Regions from separate parts of the Homo sapiens genome. Here all the other regions are linked to region 3. The links are contacts of gene promoters, found by promoter capture Hi-C in blood cells and fetal thymus (Javierre and others, 2016). All regions are on one chromosome and are shown on one strand. The core of a region is centred on a gene start or on the middle of the fragment in contact, and the rest is flanking DNA. Distances in the headings are between cores, read along the strand shown. Region 1 has its middle 48 kb from the start of BAIAP2L1. Region 2 overlaps MYH16 (myosin heavy chain 16). Region 3 holds the start of TMEM130 (transmembrane protein 130).

The links. Contacts are between HindIII fragments. The CHiCAGO score rates a contact against its expected background, and 5 or more counts as called.
Region 1: a contact is called between a fragment that was not itself captured here and the fragment with the promoter of TMEM130 in region 3, in 10 of 17 cell types (naive B cells, total B cells, endothelial precursors and 7 more). The highest score is 10.9, in naive B cells.
Region 2: a fragment that was not itself captured here is called in contact with the fragment with the promoter of TMEM130 in region 3 in 3 of 17 cell types (fetal thymus, megakaryocytes and monocytes); the score reaches 6.2 in fetal thymus.

The regions. Positions count from the first base shown.
Region 1 is chr7:98,447,450-98,451,707 of GRCh38, reverse strand. No RefSeq gene overlaps it. Among named protein-coding and RNA genes, the nearest start is that of BAIAP2L1, 48 kb to the right of the region's middle. The HindIII fragment of the contact is 533 bases long and covers 2,355-2,887 here.
Region 2 is chr7:99,306,048-99,309,712 of GRCh38, reverse strand. MYH16 (myosin heavy chain 16) reads right to left here. Exons shown (of 24, transcript NM_001431356.1): 23 at 2,877-3,104. The coding sequence ends at 2,904. The region is part of intron 2 of LOC105375421 (a long non-coding RNA gene); the gene reads left to right. Among named protein-coding and RNA genes, the nearest start is that of ARPC1A, 18 kb to the left of the region's middle. The HindIII fragment of the contact is 2,333 bases long and covers 190-2,522 here.
Region 3 is chr7:98,868,094-98,872,164 of GRCh38, reverse strand. It overlaps TMEM130 (transmembrane protein 130), which reads left to right and starts at 2,151. Exons shown (of 8, transcript NM_152913.3): 1 at 2,151-2,388. The coding sequence starts at 2,304. RefSeq lists enhancers at 2,081-2,666, 2,667-3,253. The HindIII fragment of the contact is 4,583 bases long and covers 1-3,780 here.

The sequences.
Region 1 (4,258 bases), core at 1,372-3,871, 420 kb after region 3:
ACATATACCCATTAAATAAAAACTACCAAATGATATCTGATGAACGAATGCTTGTGGCTCTCAATTAAGATTACATATTAGGCTGGGTGCGGTGGCCCATGCTGTAATCCCAGCACTTTGGGAGGCCAAGGAGGGAGGATTGCCAGAGCTCAAGAGTTCCAGACCAGCCTGAACAACATGGTGAAACCCCATCTCTACTAAAAATACAAAAATTAGCCAGGCATGGTGGCATGCACCTATAGTCCCACCTACTAGGTAGGCTGAGGTGGGAGGATCACTTGAACCCAAGAAATGGAGGTTGCAGTGATGCCACTGCACTCTGGCCTGGGTGACAGAGCGAGACTCCATCTCAAAAAAAAAAAACGAAATAGGGGCAGGGTGAGGTGGTTCATGCTTGTAGTCCCAGCACTTTGGGAGGCCAAGACAGGAGAATTGCTTGAGGCCAGCAGTTCAACACCAGCCTGGGCAATCATAGAGATAGTGAGACCCCTATCTCTATGAAAAATTTAAAAATTAGCTGGGCATGGTGGTGCACACCTGTAGTCCCAGCTACTTGGGAGGCTGAGGTGGGAGGATTGCTTGAACCCAGGAGGTCAAGGCTGCAGTGAGCTGTGTACTGCTGCACTCCAGCCTGGGTGACAGAACAAGACCCTGTCTCAAAAAAAAAAAAAAAAAAAAAAAAAAGAAAGAAAGAAAGAATGTCTTTTCCAGCAACTTGGATGAAACTGGAGGCCATTATCCTTAGTGAAGTAACTCAGGAACAGAAAACCAAATACTGCATGTACTCACCAATAAGTGGGAGCTAAGCTATGGGTATGCAAAGACATGCAGAGTGGGGACATTGGAGACTCAGAAAGGGGATGATGGTAGTGGGTGACGATGAAAAACTACTTATTGGATACAAAGTACACTACTCAGGTGACAGAGGCTCTAAAATCCTAGGCTTCACCACCATACAATTCTTCCACATCCCAAAACCCACTTGTACCCCTCAAGCTACTGAAATGAAAAAAAACTTAAAAATAAATTTTTGGCTGGGTTCTGTGGCTCACGCCTGTAATCCTAGCACTTTGGGAGGCCAAGGCTGGCAGATCACCTGGGGTCAGGAGTTTGAGACCAGCCTGGCCAACATGGTGAAACCCTGCCTCTACTAAAAATACAAAACTTAGCCAGGCATGGTGGCACATGTCTGTAATTTCAGCTACTGTGGAGGCTGAGACAGGAGAATCGCTTGAACTTGGGAGGCGGAGGTTGCAGTGAGCCAAGATTGTGCCACTGCACTCCCGCCTGGTCAACAGAGTGAGATTCCGTCTCAAAAATAAATAAATAAATTTTGTTTGAGACAGAGTCTTGCTCTGTTTCCTAAATTGAAGGGCAGCAGTGCTATCATGGCTCACTGCAGCCTCAACCTCCTGTGCTCAAGTGATCCTCCCACCTCAGCCTCCTGAATAGCTTGGACTACAGGCTCATGCCATCACATCTGGCTAATTTTTGTAATTTTTCCAGGGATGGGGTCTTATTATGTTGCCTAGGCTGGTCTTGAACTCCAGGCTCAAGTGACCCTGCTGCCTCGGCCTCCCAGGTAGCTGGGACTACAGGCACGCACTACCACACCTGGCTAATTTTTTATTTGTTATAGAGATGGGGTGTCACTATATTGCCCAGGCTGGTCTCAAACTCCTGGCCTCAATCAGTCCTCCCACCTCTGTCTCCCAAAGGGCTGGGATTACAGGCATGAGCCACCATGCCCAGCCACTATTTTTTCTTTTTAAAAAAATTTTTGGCTGGGCATGGTGGCTCACGCCTGTAATCCCAGCCCTTTGGGAGGCCGAGGCAGGTGGATCATCTGAGCTCAGGAGTTCAAGACCAGCCTGGCCAACATTGTAAAACCCCGTCTCTACTAAAAATGCAAAAATTAGCCGGGTGTGGTGGCACGTGCCTATAATCCGAGCTACTCGGGAGGCTGAGGCAGCAGAATCACTTGAACCTAGGGGCAGAGGTTGCAGTGAGCTGAGATCATGTCACTGCACTCCAGCCTGAGGGTCAGAGTGAGACTCTCAAAAAATAAATAAATAAATAAATAAAATAAAATAAAAAAGAAAAGAAAAAATAAATTGACAGAGCCACACCGAGTGTAAGAAACTAATCAGATCTATTCAGCTAGAAAACCAATTTTGCACAACTGTGTCCATTTTCCTCCCAAGGAGTTTTACACCTTGATGCAAATCGGGAGATTGTTGGAAAGTGGAATTTCATGTTAATTTGCATTTCTGACCGTGGAGGGGTAGGTGAAATGTGACTTCTTTTCTATGGCACAGATAAGAGTGGCACTCTGAGAGGCTCAAAAGGAAGCTTCCTCCCCCAAATGCCATCCTCAACATAACCGTGAAACAAAAATGGCGCATCTCAGAAGGACCTTGGTGGTGTCGTTGGAAGGTAGATTAACAAGAATGATACCTGCAAGCTGTAATTGTGCTTGCTTTCCCTGACATACAGTAGGTGCCCCATAAACCTCTGATGGCTGGATGAATTAACAAGTGAATGAGCTCTTTATTCAAGGGTCCTACCCCAAACCAGCATCCCTCAACCAGTCCTTCCATCACCATCTAGGTGATTGGGGGTTGTTGATGGAAAAAGGCAAGAACCAAATTTGCAAACTCCCCTGCTGGCTTCACAATAATTCATGCTCATCTGCGTCTAATAAAATATAGAAGCAATTTTACAGGAACATTTTGTGCTTTAGCGATTCATTTAACTCTTTCCTCCAGGGGGCAAGTCGTATATCCTCATCCAGATATGTGGGAAGTTCCGTGAATAAATCTGCAAATATCTTAAGATGAAATGTTCCTCTCCCCACCGGGAGCCCTGACTCTAGCGAAGGAAAGCTTGTAAGTGAACACCAACCGGGCTTATCCTGGCCTCCTCTCCTACCCATAGTTTCCTGCCCCTGTGTCTGTCCCACTGCCCAAGTGACCTGAAATTGCTAGAGGAGGTGAGTGCTGAAGTCAGCGTCCTCAGAGCCAAGGACATTGTCTTCTAGAACCAAGTTCACCCCTTTACTTGGCAGGACCTCCAAGAGATGAGCTGCTGTCCACCCCATCAGCCCTCAACACCAGACCACCAGGAAGGACAGACGCTCAGGAGCCACAGCCGCTGCCACCATCCCCTCAGACACCACGAACAGCCCCTTCACTGTTCCTGGCTGTGTCTGCCTCTATGAGCTGCCCCCAAACTCCTTGCAGATTTAGGAACTGATGAATAAAAATGAGTAACACCTGCCCCAAGCTGCCTATTGCTCCATTCACGTCCTGATTTTCTGGGTCACCAATTTTTTTTAATTAAACTTTTCATTTTCAGATGATTGTAGATTCACATGCGGTTGTAAGAAATAATACAGAGAGAGCTCTTGAACTCCCTTACCTGGTTTCCCCCAGTGGTAGCATCTTGCAAAACTATAGTACAATATTGGGTCACCAATTTTCTTTTTTCTTTTTCTTTTTCTTTTTTTTTTTTTTTTGAGCCGGAGTCTCACTCTGTCACCCAGGCTGGAGTGCAGTAGTGCAATCTCAGCTCACTGCAACCTCCACCTCCCAGGTTCAAGCAATTCTCCTGCCTCAGCCTCCCAGGTAGCTGGGATTACAGGTGCCTGCTCCCATGCCCAGCTAATGTTTTTGTATTTTTAGCAGAGATGGGGTTTCACCACGTTAGCCAGGCAGGTTTCAAACTCCTGACCTCAGGTGATCTGCCCGCCTTGGCCTTCCGAAGTGCTAGGATTACAGGCATGAGTCACCGCGCCTGGCCCAATTTTTTTTTTCTTTTTTAGGAGGCAGGGCCTCGCTCTGTCACCCACACTGGAGTGCAGTGGCACAACCATAGCTCGCTGCAACCCCTACCTCCTGGGCTCAAGCAATCGTCCCCAGCTTCAGCCTTCCAGGTAGCTGGGACTACAGGTGCACACCACCATGCTCAGCTAATTTTTTAAAATTTTTTGTAGAGATGGGGTCTTGCTATATTGCCCAGGCTGGTCTCAAACTCCTGGCCTCAAACGATCCTCCCACCTTGGCTTTCCAAAGTGTTGGGATTACAGGCATGAGCCACCATGCCTGGCTGGTCAGCAATTTTTTAAATGTAATATCCCGTCCCTATTTTATAAAATTTGATAGGAAGTTTATTTTCACCAAACTGAAATTCTTGACCCCATCTGCCCACTCCAAAATCCACTTGACTTGTTTACCCGATATTTCCCATCTGGAAAAAG
Region 2 (3,665 bases), core at 107-2,606, 440 kb before region 3:
AGGGGACCTGCTTTAAAGGATGTCTAATCCTGGAGCCTAAGACTCCTAGTGGAAGGAGCTGAACTGCCTTCTGAGTCTGGGTGTACAGGAAGCCTCATGAGTAGTTCCCACCTAGGTCAGAGCTCACTGGGAGGGATCCCTTTCAGGTTTTTGCCTGAAAGGTAAAACACATTAATGCAGAGACAAGCTTCTGATTTCCTTAACTTCCTGACCTAACCATTATTTCAGGGTTAGAGAATTCAGAAAAAGATTCTGTGCCCCATATTTTATCTCCTCCCTAAGCAAACGGTCAGATAAAGCTCAGCTTCACATCAAAGTTCAATGGGGTTATCGCTTTTGGCCAAAACCCAAACTGACCACCATTACTGAAAGATAGCGAATCGTAACTGAGCAGGGAAACTTACCCTCCTCACTAGGGGCTGATTCAACAAGCTGTTGATTCAGTGAGGCCAGATATAATTCCCAGAAGCCACGGAGGTCGGTGCTTAGGGTTCAGCCCCACCCCACCTCCCAAAGCGAACCAGTCTTTGATTTTTTGCTGCCCTGATTAATCCCACATAGAGGGCAACCATATCAATCTCCACAGTAACTTCAAATAAAAGATAACTTGCCTTTTCATAGCACAGGGTGTGTGTGACCATGAGCAAGTCACCAAACTTCTCCAAGCTCATTTTCCTCACCTGACAAACGGGGATATTTATACCTACCTTGTAGGGTAGAAAAGAGAGTGAAAAGCATTTTCCATGCACTTAGCCACCACCACGCTCATTTTTTACATTTTTTTGTAGAGATAGGGTCTTGCTATGTTGCCCAGGCTGGTCTCGAACTTCTGGCCTCAAGTGATCCTCCCACCTTGGCCTCCCAAAGTGTTGGGATTAGAGGCGTGAGACACTGCGCCCAGCCCTTTCAGTTGCCTTTTCTTTCTTAGCACTTGGCTCTTGTTAAAGGAGAAACCTCCACACCCTGGCTCCATGTATCTGGGTGGTTCTCAAACTCAGTCACACATCTGAGTCACCTGGAGGGCTTGCTAAATCACAGATGCTGGGCCCACCCCCAGAGCTGCTGATGCATAGGTCTGGAGCCAGGCCTAAGAATAGGCACTTCTAAGAATGTCGTAGGTGACACTGATGCTGCTGGTCCCGGGACCATGTTTTGGGATCCACTCCTCCAGAATCACATTCTGTGCCTTACCCCTCATTTTCCTTTTGCTTCTGTCCATGGGAAAAGGAGTGATTGATCTTGTTTTTGGAATAAGGAACCAGGAAGGCAGAGCTGAGCCCCATCTAATCTCTCCTTTTAGATCTACTCCCAGGGATGATGGGTTCTGATTGTTCCTCTCCTAGGAATAGTGGCTACTCCCCGGGGATCAAGCCTGCATTTGTTCAGTTCTGGTTTTTTTTTTTTTTTTTTTTTTTTTTTAGACAGAGCCTCGCTCTGTCACCCAGGCTGGAGTGCAGTGGCGTGATCTTGGCTCACTGCAACTCGTGCCTCCTGGGTTCAAGCAATTCTAGTGCCTCAGCCTCCCGAGCAGCTGGGATTACAGGCGTGTGCCATCACGCCTGGCTAATTTTGTATTTTTAGTAGAGTTGGGGTTTCAGGTATCTTTAATTTTGAGGCAAAGTATGAGGATGCCTATGGTGGACACACATTAAAGCCCCATCCTCAATCTAGAATTATGGCATATTAAAACTGGTATTTGGGTCAGGCATGGTGGCTCATGCCTGTAATCCCAGCACTTTGGGAGGCTGAGGCAGGTGGATCACAAGGTCAAGAGACTGAGACCATCCTGGCCAACATGGTGAAACCCCGTCTCTACTAAAAATACAAAAATTAGCTGGGCATGGTGGTGTGCACCTGTAGTCCTAGCTACTTGGGAGAACTGCTTGAACCTGGGAGGCGGAGGTTGCAGTGAGCCGAAATCCCACCACTGCACTCCAGCCTGGTGACAGAGTGAGACTCTCAAATAAATAAATAAAACTAGTATTTTGACTTTTTTTTCTTTGAGATGGGGCCTCACTGTGTTGCCCAGGCTGGAATGCTAGATCATTGTAACCTCAGACTCCTGGGCTCAAGGGATCCTCCTATCTCAGCCTCCTGAGTAACTGGGACTACAGGTGTGCACCACCATGCCTGGATAATTTTTTTTTATTTTTGTAGAGACAGGGTTTCACTGTGTTGCCCAGGCTGGTCTTGAACTCCCGGGCTTAAACCATTTTCCCCCTTGGCCTCTGAAAGTACTAGGATTTACAGGCACAAGCCACTGTGCCCAGCCTATTTTAACTTTTATATATTTATCTCCAATATTTTTTGTCCTTGATTAGTTCTGAATTAAGGGGAATAAAGACTACTTTAAATTGTTTCCTTAAAATCCCACCTGCACTCAGTGTTCAAGAAATGGTAGCTGTGATGATAATTATCATTTTCTTAGTGTTAGAGACCTGAATTCAACCAGGATTGATGAAATCTCCAGTGAAAAATGATATTGTGGGGGACACGAAAGATAACACACATTGCCATAAGCTTGTGGACGTCCCTGTGACTGTACTAAGCACCTAGGTTCCAAGGCTAGTGTCAAGTGGCATCACACTTGGGAACCGCCCTTCTGTGCAGATGGGGGAACATCAGGTCGGCCAGCACCTGTGATACAGGTGAACAGCACCCCACCCGAGGGCTGTGACACTCTAGAGGAGTTTTGCAGCTGAAGAAGGAGGGGAAGAGCTTTGGGGTTCCTGTTGCATGAGACTGGGTGTGACAAAGACTGGAGCTGGGGAGCAGGGGGAGTATGGCTGGGTCACATAGTACCAATACTAGCAGCAAAGCCAGTGCAGGGAAGGAGCGCTCTGAGCGAGACCGTCCAGAGCGGAGTCCACACCTACCAGTTGTGGCCTAGGACACGGAGGGCCTCACTCCTCAGAAAGGGTTTTCGAGGTGCCTGTCTTGGACACCTGGATGATCTCCACAGAGGTGATGCCCTTGCCGGCCACGCGGTGTCTGGTGCGCAGCTTGTTTAGGGCAGTCTCTGCCATGCCAGCCCGGTCCTCAGCGTCATCCAGCTCATGCACCGTCTTCCTGTATCGAGCCAAGGTCTGGTTGGCCTGGTCCTCCTGTGACAAAGGCACGGCGGGAAACGGGGCATAAACGTGGCTGGTTCTGGTTAAGTGTGCATTAAAAAAAAATTTTTTTTTTGAGAGACAGTCTCGCTCTGTCGCCCAGGCTGGAGTGCAGTGGTCTGATCTCGGCTCGCTGCAACCTCCACCTCCTAGGTTCCAGCAATTCTCCTGCCTTAGCCTCCCAAGTAGCTGGGATTAAGGTGCCCGCCACCACGCCTGACTAATTTTTGTATTTTCAGTAGAGATGGGTTTCACCATGTTGGCCAGGCTGGTCTCAAACTCCTGACCTCAGGTGATCCACCTACCTCGACCTCCCAAAGTGCTGGGATTACAGGCATGAGCCACCATGCCTGGCCTCTTTACAAGTTCTTATCTCTGGTGTGTAGTGTCTGGTCCTCCCTCCCACTGGATTCCAAGGAGGAGACACCATGGACATGAGCCTCGCAGAGTCATCTTAGGGCCAGTGCTTGCTTCTTTCCCTGTGGTTAATTCCCAGCAAGGCTGGCGACCCGCACTGAGAAACAAGAGTGAGGGAAGGAGGAGTGGGGAGGCGCA
Region 3 (4,071 bases), core at 902-3,401:
TGTTGCCCAGGCTGGAGTACAGTGGTGCAATCTTGGCTCACTGCAAACTCCGCCTCCAGGTTCAAGCAATTCTCCTTCCTCAGGCTCCCAAGTAGCTGGGATTACAGGCGCCTGCCACCGAGTCTGGCTAATTTGTGTATTTTTAGTAGAGACGGGGTTTCACCATCTTGGTTAGGCTGGTCTCGAACTCCTGACCTCGTGATCCACCCGCCTCGGCCTCCCAAAGCGCTGGGATTACAGGTGTGAGTCACCATGCCCTGCCCTGTCTAGCCCTTTTAACTTTTCATAGGGGCTCACTCAAATCTATTCTCCCTCCATTCCCTGAACATAGCAGTGGGGCCAGTGGGGCCCATTCTTAGGGAAGCTCACAGCTGTCCCAGAGCCAGGGGCCCTTTAGACCAGTAGTCCCCAACCTTTTTGGCACCAAAGACAATGTTTCCACGAATGAGGGGTTGGAGGGATGGTTTCGGGATGATTCAAGCGCATTACTTTTATTGTATACTTTATTTCTATTATGATTACATACTCACCATCATGTAGAATCAGTGGGAGCCCTGAGCTTGCTTTCTTGCAACTAGATGGTCCCATCTGGGGATGATGGGAAACAGTGACAGAACATCAGGCATTAGATTCTCATAAGGAGCACGCAACCTTGATCCCTCACGTGAGCAGTTCACAGTAGGGTTTGCGCTCCTATGAGAATCTAATGCCCTGCTGATCTGCCAGGAGGTGGAGCTCAGCGTGGCTCACAGGCCCTGCTCACCTCCTGCTGTGCAGCCAGTTCCTAACAGGCTATGGACTGGTACTGGCGGCCAGGGGCTTGGAGACCCCTGCTTTAGACGCCTTGATGTCAATGCACTGGGTGGTGCAGTGATGGTCCATCCGTGCTCCACGGGCCAGAGAGGAGGTCAAAGGCCCTCACTGTGTGGGAGGATCCCTCGCCCAGGTAGCCGTAGCAAAGCGGAAGCATAGCTGGGACCAGAACCCACCGGGCTTCCAGCGTTTAAGGCCAGCCAGGCCCCTCCAGCTTCTAGGAGAGCCCAGCCCTGCTCCTCTAAGGCAAATGGCAGTAACTGTGTAGGCTGGTCACCCCTCACCGCAGTAGCCTGACTCCCACAAGGCCCTCAGTGACAAAGAAGTTGCCCTGGGCCCAGATACGAGCAGGAGCCCCATCTTAACAGCAGCTGTGAGAGGGTAAACCGGGGGATGACATCAAGCCCACGGCAGGGGCCGGGTGCTCAGGCCCCTCTATCAAGAAGGGGCAAGAGGCTGGGCACAGTGGCTTACACCTGTAATCCCAACATTTTGGGAGGCTGAGGCGAGAGGATCACTTGAGGCCAGGAGTTTGAGACCAACCTGGCCAACATGGTGAAACCCCGTCTCTACTAAAAATACAAAAATTAGCCAGGCCTGGTGGCGGGCACCTGTAATCCCATCTTACTAGGGAGGCTGAGGCAGGAGAATCGCTTGAACCCGGGAGGCGGAGGTTGCAGTGAGCCGAGATCGCGCCATTCTGGGACAGAGCGAGACTCTGTCTCAAGATTAAAAAAAAAAAAAAAAGAAAAGAGGAAGCAGCAGCAGCAGCAGCAGCAAGAGGAATTTCGAGGCCTTTCGCCCAACGCCTGGCGCACCTTAAGCTCTCAACAGTTCTTGAATGAGGAGTAGCATCTCGGAGCCACGAGCGTGCAGAGAGAAGGCACCTGGAGGAGAGCCCCAAGGGACCTGCAGGCGGCTTGCAGCGCAGCGCACGCCCCTGGGGACGCTGAGTCAGAGCCGGCGGCATCGGATCCAGGGCGGGGAGGGGCTCGGGGGAAGGGAAAAATGCGGGTGCGGGGGGCGTGGTTTCGGGTAGTGGAGGGGAAGGATGCGGCCGGGGGTGGATTTGGGGTGGGGAGGGATGCGGGGAGGAGCCAGGGCGCAGGAAGGGAGCTCTGGAACCCCTAGAGGGGAAGCAAGCTGGGAGGGGCGATCGTGGACTCCAGGAGGGCAGGGGGCGCGGCCGTGGGAAGAGACCCGGAGAGGGAGGACGCGGCCGTGGAGAGGGACGCGGGAGCAAGGGGCGGCGGGAGGAGGAGGAGGGCGCGCGGCGCGGCTGACGTGGGCCGGGGTCGCGCAGCGGGCTGTGGGCGGCGGCGGCGGCGCGCAGCGACAGAGCGTCCCCCGGCGAGGACGAGCGAGCACGGCGCCCGCACCTCCCCGCACCGCCCGCGCTGCGCGCCCGGAGGAGCGACCGCCGCAGTTCTCGAGCTCCAGCTGCATTCCCTCCGCGTCCGCCCCACGCTTCTCCCGCTCCGGGCCCCGCAATGGCCCAGGCAGTGTGGTCGCGCCTCGGCCGCATCCTCTGGCTTGCCTGCCTCCTGCCCTGGGCCCCGGCAGGGGTGGCCGCAGGTAAGGCGCTGGGCAATCCGGCCTCCCTGCAGCCGCAGCCCGCCCGGGGCCTGGAACCGTCTCAGCGGGCGAGTGGGCCCGGGAGCAGGGATTGCGGAGGTGGCACCGTGCGCCCTGCGCGCATCTCCCTCCTCGGCTGAGGCCACTGCAGCGCCCTTTCCCCTCTCCTTTCATCCTTGTTCCCCAAAGTCGCCTGGGCACTGGAGGGGGCTCCCCGCACCCCCTGGATTCCTGCTTCCACCCCCCCAGGCTGGCCCTGCCCTGGAAACCGCGCGGGGGTGGCCGGCGCATCCGTCGATGCCTGGGGACCATGCACCCGCTAAGGGAGGGGAGGACGAGGCAGGGAGGCGGGGATGCGCCAGGGTCCGTCATCGCGCCACAATTCCCCAGTCCCCCAGGGAGCACGGGATGGGCAACGTTTTTGCCTTAAAATGTCGCCTCATCTAGAGGGGTTTCCCACCGTGTTGGTGCTGGCTTTGGGGAGATGCGAATTTAGAGCCCAGGAGGCCAGGCTGCCATTTCCTCTCTGGTGGTGATTTCCAAAATGGACCCGGAGCTGACAGGTTCCTGGGGTGTGTGTGTGGGTGGGGGAGTGGGGGAAGCAGGGTTGTGTGTCTACTGCCCCCACTTCCCCACCGCCAGAAAGCCAGCACCCACCTCTCTGCCACATTTTGGGAACCATAAAAGGACCCAGATTTAAGACTATTCGAGGGACAGATGGGACGTGGGCAGCTAAGAAGGTTGAATACTATCCACCACTTTTCACCCCCTCCCCCCTCATAAAAGAGCGGTGGAGAGAGAGAGCAAGGGATCTAATGAAAATTTGTGAAAGAAAAACCATGAGGTCAAAGAAAACCTGCAACTCAGGGATGAATTAGACGAATTTTATGGGAATTGCACTTGGACAAGATTACCTATTTCCTCCTGGAAATACAGGAAAGGGGTCTCTTGTCCATCAGGTTGATTTGTGTCAGAGATTTTCAATGTGTCCTAAATTGCAAAAGAAAAAGAAAATAATAACAAAAGTGAATTAATTATTTGGAAATCATGTGTGGTTCCCATTCTAGCCAATTGCACCCTTGATGTGGTCAAAATCACAGTGGCTAAGAGTGGAGTTGGGAAACATCTTCTCCCTCACCCGTCGGGGAGACTTTTCTACCCTTCCCCTTTCTGGAGTCCATGAATCAGGGATTTGTAAGTCAGAAGTCCATGTACTGGACTATTAATTAATTCTGGGTTGTGTTATCCAGACTTTAGAGGTACTCTTTGGAAGTGTTTTGGGTAGTCTGCATATTCTGTGTGAAAGGACTGGTGTAGCCATTTTCTAGAATGTTCAGGGCTGCACATGCTGTGTTGCTGGAAAAGGTAGGTGTTTCTTCCATGGGCCAAGCTTTGGGGTGAGTGCCCCATCTCTTTTTGCTTTTGCCCCTTGAGCTCTGGGTGACTTGGGGGGCCCTTGGAGTCCCCTAAACCTCTGCCTTGGCTGCTCCATACCCCAACTCCATGTCACATGGACTCCCAAACATGGAAAGATGAATTTGTTTGTTTGAGATGCAGTCTTGCTCTGTCACCCAGGCTGGAGTGCAGTGGCACAATCTTGGCTCACTGCAACCTCCACCTTCTGGGTTCAAGAAATTCTCCTGCCTCAGCCTCCCAAGTAGCTGGGATTACAGGCGCCTGCCA